Regions from separate parts of the Homo sapiens genome. Here all the other regions are linked to region 2. The links are contacts of gene promoters, found by promoter capture Hi-C in blood cells and fetal thymus (Javierre and others, 2016). All regions are on one chromosome and are shown on one strand. Each heading gives the region's core, a stretch centred on a gene start or on the middle of the fragment in contact. The rest is flanking DNA. Distances are from core to core; before and after follow the strand shown. Region 1 overlaps LOC105371642 (a long non-coding RNA gene). Region 2 holds the start of RGS16 (regulator of G protein signaling 16). Region 3 has its middle 39 kb from the start of ZNF648. Region 4 overlaps DHX9 (DExH-box helicase 9).

What was found. The method cuts DNA at HindIII sites, captures the fragments that hold promoters and counts their contacts. A CHiCAGO score of 5 or more calls a contact.
Region 1: a contact is called between a fragment that was not itself captured here and the fragment with the promoter of RGS16 in region 2, in 2 of 17 cell types (M1 macrophages and M2 macrophages). The highest score is 6.3, in M1 macrophages.
Region 3: a contact is called between a fragment that was not itself captured here and the fragment with the promoter of RGS16 in region 2, in 4 of 17 cell types (M0 macrophages, M1 macrophages, erythroblasts and 1 more). The highest score is 8.4, in M0 macrophages.
Region 4: a fragment that was not itself captured here is called in contact with the fragment with the promoter of RGS16 in region 2 in 2 of 17 cell types (naive CD8 T cells and activated CD4 T cells); the score reaches 6.5 in naive CD8 T cells.

What each region holds. Positions count from the first base shown.
Region 1 is chr1:182,118,637-182,122,239 of GRCh38, reverse strand. It overlaps LOC105371642 (a long non-coding RNA gene), which reads right to left. Exons shown (of 3, transcript XR_922341.3): 3 at 3,592-3,603. Among named protein-coding and RNA genes, the nearest start is that of ZNF648, 59 kb to the right of the region's middle. RefSeq lists a silencer at 1,052-1,346 and an enhancer at 1,052-1,346. The HindIII fragment of the contact is 3,862 bases long and covers 1-3,281 here.
Region 2 is chr1:182,602,497-182,605,906 of GRCh38, reverse strand. It overlaps RGS16 (regulator of G protein signaling 16), which reads left to right and starts at 1,518. Exons shown (of 5, transcript NM_002928.4): 1 at 1,518-1,691; 2 at 2,568-2,678. The coding sequence starts at 1,648. RefSeq lists enhancers at 1,204-1,283, 1,754-1,803, 1,894-1,953. The HindIII fragment of the contact is 22,726 bases long and covers 1-3,410 here.
Region 3 is chr1:182,098,701-182,102,301 of GRCh38, reverse strand. No RefSeq gene overlaps it. Among named protein-coding and RNA genes, the nearest start is that of ZNF648, 39 kb to the right of the region's middle. RefSeq lists a silencer at 594-888 and an enhancer at 586-1,356. The HindIII fragment of the contact is 2,517 bases long and covers 599-3,115 here.
Region 4 is chr1:182,883,957-182,887,234 of GRCh38, reverse strand. It overlaps DHX9 (DExH-box helicase 9), which reads right to left. Exons shown (of 28, transcript NM_001357.5): 27 at 2,422-2,622; 28 at 1-152. Among named protein-coding and RNA genes, the nearest start is that of DHX9-AS1, 46 kb to the right of the region's middle. The HindIII fragment of the contact is 4,260 bases long and covers 1-3,278 here.

The DNA of each region.
Region 1 (3,603 bases), core at 101-2,600, 480 kb after region 2:
TTTCCAGACTAAGGGGAGAGGGTGAGCAAGGGCGTGGAGGCCCCAGGAGCAGAGTGAGTTCAGGGAGGTCATACAAGCAGTTCCTCATGGCTGATAGGGCAGGGAGTAGCAAAACATGAGGCCAGAGATGCAAGCTGGGGGTTAGAAAATATCTGAATGTAAGGAAATATCTGAGCACAACATTATACAAGTTCATGCAAATCACTTGCAAAACAAGATGTATCCTGTCAATAAACCTATTCATAAGGTTGAGAGGGTGGACACATTGGTAACAGAACCTCACTGCCAAGATCAACAGTTTGCATGCTGGAAGAATTATTTATGTATTCATTTAATCTAATCACATGTATACGGCATGTGCTAAGTGCCAGGCACTAAAGGCCCCCATGATAAATTCTATATTCCTAACACAATGACTAGCACTTAGCACTCTGTCCAAAGTGGGCATGCCGTAGATAATTGTTGAATGAATAAATGAATGACCAATTTGTGCTTCTGTCAAAAGAGTTTACAGTCTAGTGGGAGAATCAGAGAGGTAAGCAAATTATATTCTATCAAATCATTATACTTAGGATAGGGCAGGGAATTCATCTTACAAATGTCTGCAAGGGCCAGGCAAGCAGGGTAACTAAATGAAAAGATCTCCTGGTGTAAGACAATAGGGAATAGTGCAGACCGCAGCAAGTGGTGAGTATGAGCCCATTCTAAAGGGGAACAGCTGCTACTCAATTCCAAACCGATTAGGATCAAAAGGAGCTAGAAATTTGTATTTTAGTCAAAGGAAATGTTATTTTCTAAATTGGTTGCTCCCAGATGCTCAGGATTCCAGCAGAATTAGCCTGGTATGGAGGCAGTGATTAGTAGGAAAGAGACCTGACAAGCTGCCTTTCTGGATGGACGTAGTATGGGATTCAGTAACCTCTGTAATCAGAAGGGGACACCACAGCCCTCAGTGCCAAGAGGGTAAACCATGTTAGGTGCTGCCAGCATCCAAGACCCCTGCTCCTCGGTAGCCCTTTGGGCTCCTGTGCACCTAGCGAGACCGTAACTTTAAGTCAATCTCTGACCTTCTTAGGCCTGACCCAGGCTCCAGGGCAGCTCCTCCCCTAGACTGCCACGGGACTTCTGTGGCAGTGGCTAATTCCCTGGCCATGGGGATCTGTTTGGGGCTGTTTGTTTTGCAGAAGAAAACAGAAGGCCGCAGTGTATCGGAATTCTGCCCCTCCTCCTGCACTACTGCCTCCCCCACCACATGAAAGCTGCTGAGCAAACAGAGAAATCAAAGATGATTATACGCTGCTGGAAACCCGCGTGCTTCCGCCTGGCTGCATCTCCCTGCCAAACTGTTATGTAAGCCGCAGCCCCACTCAGGCCTGGAATCAAACAGAGATGCCATTTAGAGCCCTCCCGTGACCCGCTCCTCACCTGTAGCCTGGCTCAAACCGTGTCTCACCTGGAGTAGACCTGCCCAGGGAGGGCCATGCATGCTCTGTGGCTGGCAAAGTGGCTTTTCCATTTGTTTTGGGATTTCCCTCTCTCCTTTCCCATCCAGCACAGAGGTATGGATGGGTCAGGACCAGGCGTTTACTTTGGTTAGATTCCAAATGACTAAGATATTTTATGATGGAAAACTCCATTTGACAATCCCAGGGAGTTGAGTGTTTTTCACCCTCCTAAGTGAATAATTCACTTTGGCTGTTTAGATATCAGAGCTGAACAAGTGGCTCTGGAGCCCAAGATGACCTCCTGGCCAGAAAGGGCCTAACCGCACTGCTCTGATGACCAGTACTTATTTCTATTTAGGGATTCTGGGCATCTTCCGCAGCCCTAAACCACCTAAATGGACTTATAAGAGCTGTTCCTTAAATGCGTCAGTGACTTGGGTAAATGAGCTGAATTCTCAGGGCTTTATTTTTTTTTCTTTCTGCATCACTCAATGACTCCACAATAAGTGTGCTACAAGTTTTAAATGCTAATATTGGATTTTGGACACTGTTACAGTTATATCTGAAGTAAGATGTCAGGCTGTTTGGCGTTAACAGTGCCCAAGAGTTTATATTCGTATCTATTCAACGCTGACCTCCATTACTCTCTCCCTTTTGCAGCCTTAACTGACCATGCTCCAGTGTGAGGGACTCAGATCTCAAGTAGAAGAGGCCTGAACTTTGGAGTCAGATAACGCCTGTATTGGAGCTATAGCTTAGTCTTTCAGAGCCTATGGGACCTTGTGCTGTGGCCCGAACCATGCTAAATCCCTGGAGCCTCCCGATTTCCCTTAATTTTCCTACATTCCATCAGAAATGCACAAAGATTCCAAGAGGGCCAATTCTGGCTTTGGAAAATGATTCACCATCCTCCACCTCTCACTTGTTCCAGTATGGAAAGGGTGAACAGGAAACCCTTTGCTATTTGGTGAGATCGACCCAGGAGTGAGGCATTAGACTGGAATCTCTGGACCCTCATCTTTTTTTTTTTTTTTTTTTTGACAGAGTCTTGTTCAGTCACCCAGGCTGCAGTGCAGTGGCACGATCTCCGCTCACTGCAACCTCCTCCTCCCAGGTTGAAGCGATTCTTCTGCCTCAGCCCACCGAGTAGCTGGGATTACAGGCGCATGCCACCACATCGGCTATTTTTTTGTATTTTTAGAAGAGGCAAGGTTTCACCCTGTTGGCCAGGCTGGTCTCGAACTCCTGACCTTGTGATCCCCCTGCCTCAGCCTCCCAAAGTGCTGGGATTACAGGCATCAGCCAACACACCCAGCCCTGGCCCTCATCTCTTTTCCCATTAATGCTGGAGGGGGCGCCTCACAAACCAAGACACCTGCTAGTCGTTGGACTCACTCTTGATGACCAAGGTGCCGTATCTAGTAATTGATACAGTTATCTTTTCCTGGGAATATGAATAGCAGGTTCTTAGTCCTTGCACAGGCATTTTAAAAATGCACAAACCAAAGAAAAAAATTGCTTTTTCCAGATCCCAATCCCTAGCAGGACTAGTCAATAGGTCCCTGTATCCAGATAAGAGAAGGGATTTATGGGAGCATCCCATAAGCACATGGCAGGGAAAGAGAACAAATTCTAAATGTCCTGAGAACTGTTTTTTACCAAGCATTGCATTGTCACCATGCTGTAAAAGTAATAAACTTCCCTCCCATTGTCTGAATCTAAATAGGGGAACCAACCTCCAAGTCCAACCCCCTTCCTCAGGGAAACTGCTTCTCACTGTGCTTCAACATGACCTTTGGCTGGGAACTAAAATGTGAGTCTGAATTTGGTAAAGCTTGGATCCTTTCATTTTTCCCAACTCTCCCAGTCCAGAGGGATAAAAATCCCTGCTCCTAAAACCCAGTGGTCTCTGTGAATGAGCTCATCCAACTCCTGCTGGCTTTCTGGATAATAATGAAACTCACGTTGACCAGTCTTTCTACATTGTTTTATATATATATAGTTATATATATAGTTATATATATAGTTATATATATAGTTATATATATAGTTATATATATAGTTATAGTTATATATAGTTATATATATGACTTTATATATAATATAAAGCTATATATTTTTTAAATTTATGAAGATAATACTGATGTTGTTGGGACAG
Region 2 (3,410 bases), core at 269-2,768:
CAGGGTGTTAGTCTCTCTCCAGGAATTGCTCTTGACAAAGGGCACTGCCTTAAGATTAGGCTGTCTTCTTGGGCAGCTGTATGCAATGAATGGTCTTTATGGGGTTACCAGGGCCTTGTCCTCTTGCTTCAGTGGACAGTTCCAAAGGGCCAGCTGAGCTTCCGGGCATTCCTTGGAACCAGCTGGGGTCTCTGTTGAAATGGCATGGCCTTCAACTCCTCCCTCTGCCCAGACCTGCTTTCTTTACTCCCTCTTAATTCTGATAACTCTCCCCAGTAAACCTCCTGCATGCAAGTGTCTACCCGAGTCTAGTTCCTAGGAACTCAAACTAAGAATTAATTTATTTAGTTCTCACAACCACCTTATGAAATAAGTTGTTCTCTTCGTAGAGACAAGGAAATGGAGGCATAGAAAGGTTAAGCAGTTTGCCTCGTCTCCCATCAGTAGCCAGTTAACAGTGAACGTGGCCTTCCTGCAGCTGGGTCTTCAGCAGGTCACCTGGCAGAGCCATGACTTGAAACCTGAAAATCTAACTCTAGACCCTGTACTTTTAACCTCACATACAGCCTCTTAATAGCAATCCCAATGCCTTTATGGGAAGATGAGGTGAGAGGAAGGGCATTTATTACCTTTATGTCAGAGATGGAGACAATAAGGTATTAACTGCTTAAACCCAGGATCGTCCACAGGTATAGCCGTGACCGGGTACTAACCTTTGTGTGTGTGTGTGGTGTGTGTGTGTGTGTGTGTGTGTGTGTGTGCAATGGAAAAAGAATGGCAAATTCACATTTGAATTTTGGAGCCAACACTTACTAGCTGCACATCTTTGAGCAAGTTATTTAATAACTAAGACTTTGAGCAAGTCTTACTTATGTGCCTAGCACATAGTAGGTGTTCAATAAACTACTCATCCCTATTCCACTTTTCTGTCATCTCCAACTGTGATCTTGGACAAGTTTATTTAGCTTTCTGATTCTCGATTTCTTCATCTATAAAATGGAGATGATGATGAAGAGCTTACTTAGCCCCGTGTCCATCATGGTAAGAGCCTCGTAAAGGGTACTTATCAGTATAATCAGATGCTGTTTTGCCCAGGTTTGCACCCTGTGCGCCTGTCCTCAGGACCCAGCAGGCTCAGACTTGCCTGCGATCAAAGAAAGCCCTGTGTGCCTCCCAGACCCACCACCCCCGTGCAAACTCTCTCAACACGACACCGCTGCGTGACTTTCCTGCTGTTACTAGAGGTCGGCAGGTACTTTTCCCTAGGAAACTGGGTGTGCACGTCTCATCCCCGTGCCAATTCTCTTGCCGCTTTTCCTTCCACACGCGGCGTCCTCTGGGCGGAGGGTGCAGCTCCGCGTGCTCCAGCTGCCGCGAAAGTTGCACCCGGCCCAGTCTGGCTGCGGGCCCCGCCTCCGCCTTCTCAGCGCCCAGCCCCACCCTCCGATTGGTCAGCAGTGCCCAGCCCCGCCCCGCTCCTCCGAGGGGATTTAAAGCAGCGGCCGCTCAGTCTGGGCGCTTGCAGGCTGCTAAACCCAACCGCAGTTGACTAGCACCTGCTACCGCGCCTTTGCTTCCTGGCGCACGCGGAGCCTCCTGGAGCCTGCCACCATCCTGCCTACTACGTGCTGCCCTGCGCCCGCAGCCATGTGCCGCACCCTGGCCGCCTTCCCCACCACCTGCCTGGAGAGGTAAGGGGAGGTTGTCCAACTGCTTGGGGGAAGTCCCACCAACTCTTAGGGAGTGGAGCGGCAGGCCTGGGGACCTGGGTGGGCGCGGGGATGGGGCGCTAGAGGCTTGAGTAGAGAGGTAGAAGCGCACTTGATGCCACGTGCTCAGATTCCAGGAGCAGGGAGAAAGCAAGGGGAAGGGAAGCAAGGGCCCGCGGCTTGCTGCCATCCCCATCCTCTGACAAACTGCAGTCGTGCTCAGGTGACCTGCTGAAGACCCGGCTGCGGGAAGGCCACGTTGACATTTCCAGGCAGCACTGAGCCTGCCCATTTCTTAAGCATTTGTTTTTCATTCCTCAGACCAGAGCTAGGGGCATTGCCTCCTCTGCCCCTGGAAGACAGGGAGATTTTTTTTTTTTTGGTGGGGTGTGTGGGGGTGGGGGCTCCCACTGTTGAGGGTGTGTCCATATTCCAGAGAGCTACTCAACAGCTTCCAATCCTTACTGGCTGGGAAGGAAAAAGTAAAGATGAAGGCAGGAATCAGTTTCCCACACAGTTCAGAAATACTTCTGAAAAGAATGCTGAGTTCTTTTCTGAATCAACAGGCACGAAGAGAGATCAGTGTGACTTTAGGGAAAAGCCCATATATGCAGCGTGTGTATTACCCAGAAAGTGTAAGACCTACCACAGCATAGCTCAAACATTGCTTTTGTTGCTTTGGGGTTGATGATGCTGATAAGAGAAGCACTCTTGGCCTGGGGACAGCCAAGAGTTTCCAGGAACTCTTGAGGCTAAAGTTTGGGTGGCACCACCCAGAGCTCTTCTGGGACCCATAAACCTCTCCACACTGGCTGAGCAAATGAGAGAATGCTTTCATGTTCCTGATTTGTTTTTCAGAGCCAAAGAGTTCAAGACACGTCTGGGGATCTTTCTTCACAAATCAGAGCTGGGCTGCGATACTGGGAGTACTGGCAAGTTCGAGTGGGGCAGTAAACACAGCAAAGAGAAGTAAGTGTTGCTGACCAGCTCAGGGCTCCGAGAGGGAAGGGAGTGGGAAGGGAGTCATGAGGAGGGAAATACAGGGAGAAGCCAGGACACGCTAAGTGGACCTTGGCAACACCTCCCTAGAGATTTTAGTGGGACTTGTTGCTGGTCTGTTATGACTACTTGGCTCATGGGTGAGTGGGTAGGTGGCTCCAGGGCTCCAAGTCCATCCACGGATGAGGGCACACAGGGCATGAATGCCTAGTTCCCAGACTCTCCCACCTCGGGATTCATTGCACGTGCATCCAGGGCTAGGACAGAATCCAAGACCACTTGAAGTTTTCTAGTATGCACCTTGCCTAGAAACTCTTTCATATTGGCTATCAACTGTACCAAACTCTGGAGTTATGTGTAGATGTAATCTCTATTTATGAGGACCTTATTTCCTTGGGAAGGTGTACAAAACAAATCTTTGAGAGTCAGGGGAATTGAAATAATTTTTGGACAGAGACGAGACAGGCTTAGAGATATTGACTGAGGACTAAAGAGTCCCTGGCTTTGATTTCTGGTTGCTGAATTGTGCTCTAGAAAGCACTACTGCTTACCCTAAGTCCAACTAAGAGTTTGAGGTGTCAGCTTCAGCAATCACCAAGCAAGCCTTTCTGTGAATTTTATGCAGTTTTCCATCAGAGTTCTGGCTAGAATTTGTACTATGCTTTGGTTTGTTGATTTTTTTTCTTACTCTTTTTTTTTCTT
Region 3 (3,601 bases), core at 608-3,107, 500 kb after region 2:
TCAAAAGGGCCACTTCTGGGATTCCGGCAATGTCTAGTTCTTGATTTTACCTGGGTGTTTGCTTTGTGATAAATCACTGAGCTGGACATTTTTTGTTTTGTGTACTCTTTGGTAGATAAGTTATATAGTTCACAATAAAAAAAGTTTTATACACACACACACATTTAACGCCATATATATGTTAAACACCTAGCTTCGTGCCTGGCACATAATAAATACTCAAGAACATAAAATCACTTCTCTTCTTTCTTTCTAGCATTCCACCTTTCCTTCTTTCTTTCTAGCAAAGAAAAAAGAAAAAAAGAAACATGTGAATTTTCATAAACATTTTCCTAGTACACGCACAATCTTTCTCGCTTTCTTGCAACAATCTCACTGTCATGGAAACTGCAATTAAAAGTGGAGCCTGTGGAGAGAAGGAGAGATAGGAGCACAACAGCCTGAACTCGATTACCTCTTTGCAAGAGGAAATTCTCACTGATAACTGAATTCTGGAACTCAAAACCTAAAGTACCCATTAACACATAATATGCTTGTTGGCTTTATATTTTTAATTTTCCCTTCCAAAGCAACAAAGCAAAACCTTTGTTTAAAAGCTTCCCTTTGCTACAGGTTGCAGTTAATCCTATAATCACTGGGTGAATGTTTATCGAGCCAGACATTCTTTGTGGGTCAGAGAAGCAAGAGGCCAGCAGTGAAGGTATTGTCTTGCAGGCGACTGCGATGCAGAAAGAATGTGGTTAGGTGAGGTTGGGTGACAGGCACAGCGGGCTGTGGGCTGCAGGGATCCCTGGGACAGGCATGCTCCAGCCTGTGTCCACTAGGCAGGATGTCTGCGCCTGCCCTCATGCCTCAGCTCCTTCCCACAGCCACTTGACATGTTGGGAGCTGGGGTAAAGCCTAATGATACTTGGGGAGAAGACTTCAATTCTATCAGCTGAGAAATCAAAGACATTTGAAAATCAAGGAAGTGCCAAAGACTACTTTAAAATGATCTCTGCCCAGGTTTCCCCCATTCCCTGAAACATACAACCAATTCACCTGAAAATTACCAACTTGGAAAGAGATGAAATAATAGATTTCTGTGCCTAAAAATGATCAACAAGTCCAAAAGGCCAAAAATTGAAAGCACAAAGGACATTGGGGGCTTATTTTCAGCTGATATTGAAATTTTTCCTTGTGACCTCAAAGGAAATTCCACCTTTAGCAGAGATTTGCTCTGGAAGGGGGATTAGACTAGAATTCCTTATGGACTGGGAAGGAGGTAGAAGACAGGGGAAGGGATTCAGGAGAGGACATCTGCACCCCATGTTTTTAGACCTGTGGAATTAGGCAAGAGACATTCTGCTGGTTTGGTAGAAGTGGGACTCTCTGAAGACTAGATTACGTATTAATTAATTCAGCATATAGTTATTGAAGACCTACAGTATGCCTGTGCTGTGCCAGCTGCAGGAGTTGGACCGGAAAACCAGAGAGGCTGTGTCCCTCACCACATGGAGTCTATAAACAGAAGGGCAACAGGGCATATTGGTAGACTCCAACTGGGCCAGAGAATTTACTGGCCAAGATAACCTCCAGTTCCTCCATTTCTGTTGCAGAAGTCTGGTGAAGGGAAGCAAGGTGTGGAAAAACATGAGAAGAAAGCTCTTGTAGAAGGCCTGTCTCCACAAGGACCTCACCTGTACATAGGAAAGATGGACAAGGTAGGAAGTCCTAGCCAGAGCAATCAGGCAAGAGAAAAAAAGGCCGAGGCAGGGCGTGGGGTAGCATCTGAATTGGGAAAAAGGAAGTCAAACTATCTCTGTTTGCCAATGATATGGTCTTATACCTAGAAAACTCTGAAGACTCTTTCAAAAGACTCCTCAATTTGATAGATGAATTCAGCAAAGTCTCAGGTTACAAAATCAAAGTATGCAAATCAGTGGCACTCATATACACCATTAAAGACCACGTTGAGAATAAAATTAAGAACTCAATCCCACTTACAATAGTTACCAAAAAAAACAAAAACACCTTAGGAACATACTTAACCAAGGAGGTGAAAGACCTCTACAAGGATAACTACCAAATACTGATGAAAGAAATCATAAATGGCCAGGCATGGTGGCTCATGCCTGTAATCCCAGCACTTTGGGAGGCCAAGGCAGTCGAATCACTTGAAGTCAGGAGTTCAAGACCAGCCTGGCCAACATGGCAAAACTCTGTCTCTACTAATAATACAAAAATTAGCCAGGTGTGGTGGTGCATGCCTATAATCCCAGCTACTTGGGAGGCTGAGGCACAAGAATCGCTTGAACCCTAGAGGCAGAGCTTGCAGTCAGCCGAGATCGCATCACTGCATTCTAGCCTGGGTGACAGAGTGAAACTATGTCCAAAAAAAAAAAAAAAAGAAAGTAAAAGAAAGGAAAGAAAAGAAAGGAAGGAAGGAAATCATAAATGACACAAACAAATGGAAAAACATCTCATGCCCATGAATTGAAACAATCAATATTATGAAAATGACCATACTGCCCAAAGCAATCTACAAATTTAATGTAATTCCTATCAAACTACCAATATCATTTTTCACATAATTAGAAAAAGCAATCCTAAAATGTATATGGAATCAAAAAAGAGCTGGAATTGCCAAAGCAATCCTAGATAAAAAGAACCAATCTGAAGGCATCACATAACCCAACTTCAAATTATATTACAAAGATATAGTAACCAAAACAGCATGGTACTGCGATAAAAGTAGACACATAGACCAGTGGAATGGAATAGAGAACCTAGAAATAAAGCCAAATACTTACAACCAACTGATATTTGACAAAGATCAACAAGGCAGACAAAAACACACACTGTTCAATAAATGGTGCTGGGAAAACTGGATTACCATATACAGAAGAAGGAAACTGGATCCCTATCTCTAACCATATATAAAAATTAACTCAAGCTGAATTAAAAGACTTAAATTAAATTTAAGACCTGAAACCATAAAAATTCTAGAAGGATATCTAGGAAAACCTCTCTGGACGTTGGCCTATGCAAAGAATTTATGACTAAGACCCCAAAAGCAAATGCAACAAAATAAACACAAAAATAAATAAATGGAACATAATTAAACTAAAAAGCTTTTGCACACCAAAATAAATAATCAACAGAGTAAATAGATAACCTATAGGATGGGAGAGAATATTGGCAAACTCTACATCTGACAAAGGACTAATATCCAGAATCCACAAGGAACTCAAACAAATCAGCAAAGGAAAAAAAAATCCCATTGAAAAGTGGGCAAATGACATGAACAAACATTTTTCAAAAGAAGATATACAAATGGCCAAATAACATGAAAAAATGCTTGATATTCCTAATCATCAGGGAAATGCAAATTAAACCATGATGAAATACCACCTTATCCCAATCAGAATAACTATTACTAAAAAGTCACAAAAGCAATAGATGTCAGTACGGATGTGGTGAAAAGGGAACGCTTATACACCATTGATGGCAATGTAAATTACTACAACCTCTATAGGAAACAGTACAGAGATTTCTCAAAGAACTAAAAGTAGATCTGCCATTCAATCCGGCAATCCCGCTGCTGGGTATCTACCTAAAG
Region 4 (3,278 bases), core at 1-2,500, 280 kb before region 2:
AGTTGGCGCTGCCACCATAGCCTCCGCTACCATAGCCTCCACTGCTATAGCCACCGCCATAGCCTCCACCACTGTAACTAGAACCTCCCCTTCTATATCCGCTTCCATTGTCGTATCGGGCCATCTTGGGAGGACGTGGACCATCTCCATACCTAGGAAAAGCACAAAACCATCACTTTAGCAAAGCATTCTTATTATTTCCCAACGACTTACCAAATGTACACATTTAGTTATATTTGAAAATTTAATAAAGGGAATGAAGCCAAATGCACAAATAGAAATTGAAATAAAATTGATCTGCTATTCTAAAACAGTCATCAATTGTATCCATCTGTTTTTCTGAAGTTCTGGTTCAATCTCAAAGGTTTTGAATTTTGGCAGTATGTCATTAGAACTTTAAGACAGTCCTCTTACTCAGTTCAATAACATAAGTGTTCCAAGAAGGCAAGCATTAGGAGAGGGTTCCTGGAGCTGCCAATAAACTATTTGGTCTTTATCACCAGATGTTTTCCTGCAATAATTCTGAAATATGATTTTGAAAAATGTCCTTGGTAATAATGCCTAAATCTGTTTCATGTGGCAAATAAGGAAAATAAAGCGAATAAAAAATTGCAGAAATCAAGATGGACTGTCAACAACTTCAATTAAACATATCCCCAATCTGCTTATTATTCCTGTGCAGCTTTTCTTCGAGAATAACACCACCAATTCAGCAGCTAAGTCAGAAATATGGCTGTGTGGCTGGGTGCAGTGGTTCAGGTTTGTAATCCCAGCACTTTGGGAGGCTGAGGTGGGTGGATCACCTGACGTCAGGAGTTAGAGACTAGCCTGGGCAACATGGCAAAACCCTGTTTCTACTAAAAATACAAAAATTAGCTGGGCGTGGCAGTGTGTGCCTGTAATCCCAGCTGCTCGGGGGGTTGAGGCAGGAGGATCACTTGAACCCAGAAGGCAGAGGTTGCAGTGAGCCAAGATGGCACCACTGCACTCCAGCCTGGACAACAGGGCAAAACTGACTCTCAAAATAAATAAATAAATAAATAAATAAATTTAAAAAAAAATAAAAATAAAAATAAATGACTGTAATCTGTCTTCCTTCTTTCATTGCACTATTCCATTTTAGTCCATCACCAATTCCTATTGATTCTACCACAAATCTGTCTAATCCAGTCACATCTCCCCATTGCAATTCTACTACTGTAATTTAAGCCACCACATATTCATACATCCTAAACTCTCTTGCATATATCCCTTTCTTTCTAGTTTCCGGACTGTTATCCTTCATAGAAACAGATTATATACACAGCGGCTCCTTGCTTACCAGCCCTCCTACCAAAAATAATCTCTCTTCTCCTAAACACCCATGAATACTTCATTTGTTATCTGCCTATGACGGTTATTGAATTATTCTATGCATTTAACCACCTAGGAGGGCCACAGAATAGCATAGTAAGAGCACTGTTTCAGGAGCCATGTTGCCTGGGTTTGAACCTGGTTCTATCAGTTATTAGCTGTATGACCTTGGGTCTTATCTGTGCCTGGTTTCCTTGTTTATATTAAAGAGGATGAGGATAACAATCTACCCATCTTACAGATAGATCAAATGCCAATACATCATTTTTGATGAGGAATTAGAGGTCATTTTTGGATAACTGGAAGAATTTTAGTACCTTAGTATATTATAGTATTACTAAAACACTTAAGGTTTTGGGGTGTGATTGTGGTATTGTGGCCATGTTCTTAAAAGACATGAAGTGTATTGATGTAAAATGTGGTAATGCCTGCTACTTCATCACAAATATTAAGCAAATACAAAATGCTGAAAATTAGTGAACCTAAATAAAGACTATATGGCTATACATTGTATCACTCTTCTTGCCTTTTTGGTAAGTATCAAGTATATGTAAATAAAAATTAGTGGGCAAAGAAAAAATTTTAAAACCTGAAGCAAATAAAAATTTTAAGAATTAAGATAAATTTCTCATTTCTTTAAGATATCCATGCTCTAGTTGTTTAAGATAAACAAAAACACATATACATTTGATACAGAAACAATTTAACATCTCATCAATATTTTTCTTTAGAGATGCCAAAACAGTACCATGGAAAAAGGGCTATCTGGGCTGTGTCACTTCCCTGTCATGTGACCCACTCTGAACTATGTATGTGCATTTGTAAGTTCCTTCTAACACTACCAACATGCACTGATGCAGCAGACCAACTACTAACAAAAAAGTAAATGACATTCTTTGTTCTGAGTATGTTAGAACTCAGAACATCAAACTCTCTATCTATATAGCTCTATCTATATCTAGAATTTTACTTAAGTAATAGGGCTTCTATCACTAACTTCAGGAATTCTAGGCCTACATAAGATCTCTCCCCTCTACTTGGTTCAGTAAGAAGTATATTGGTACTCACCGTGTACTGCCAATCATAAGGTTGATACCAGCAGCTGAGGGTCTAGAGATCTGACGGATCATGTTCAGCATACGTTCATTTACGGGGTCCAACTGGCTGATGATAGCAGGTTGTTTGGTTACTTCAACAACCAAAGCCTCCATGGCTGCCCGGAGACCAGTGATACAGGCAGCAGCTTCATGAGATATTTGCAGTTTAATCCTAAAGTGGCGAAATACATTAAAAATAAGAGAGGGAGTATATGTAGAAAAAGACCATTATCTCTCAACTTCACACATGGCACATTATAGAATAAATTTAACTTCTTAAGCATTAATATTAAAAAAAAAAACTACTTATAATGGCCCCAAACTTAGGCAAACACAGATATGAAGAGTAGTTATAATCAGCACTAGCTTCTTAAAATTCACTGCTAGCTATGAGCAGGAGTCTTAAGCCAAAAAGTCTATCAAGCCAAATAAAATATAATAAAAATATATGCAATATATAATAAACAAAAAACAAAGTCCAGCAATATGGATCATTCAGACTTTCTTTTTTTTTGAGACAGAGTCTTGCTCTGTTGCCCTCGCTGGAGTGCAGTGGCGTGATAGCTCATTGCAACCTCCAACTCCCAGGTTCAAGTGATTCTCCTGCCTCAGCCTCCAGAATAGCTGGGACTACAGGTGTGCGCTACCACACGGGGCTAATTTTTTTGGATTTTTCGTAGAGACAGGTTTCACCATGTTGTCCAGGCTGATCTTGAACTTCCTGAGCCCAAGTGATGTGCCGCACCCAGCCAGATCATCCAGACTTTAAAATAATGAATTTAAGAGACCCAGAATACTGGCATTTTCTAGGTTTTCAAGAATATGATG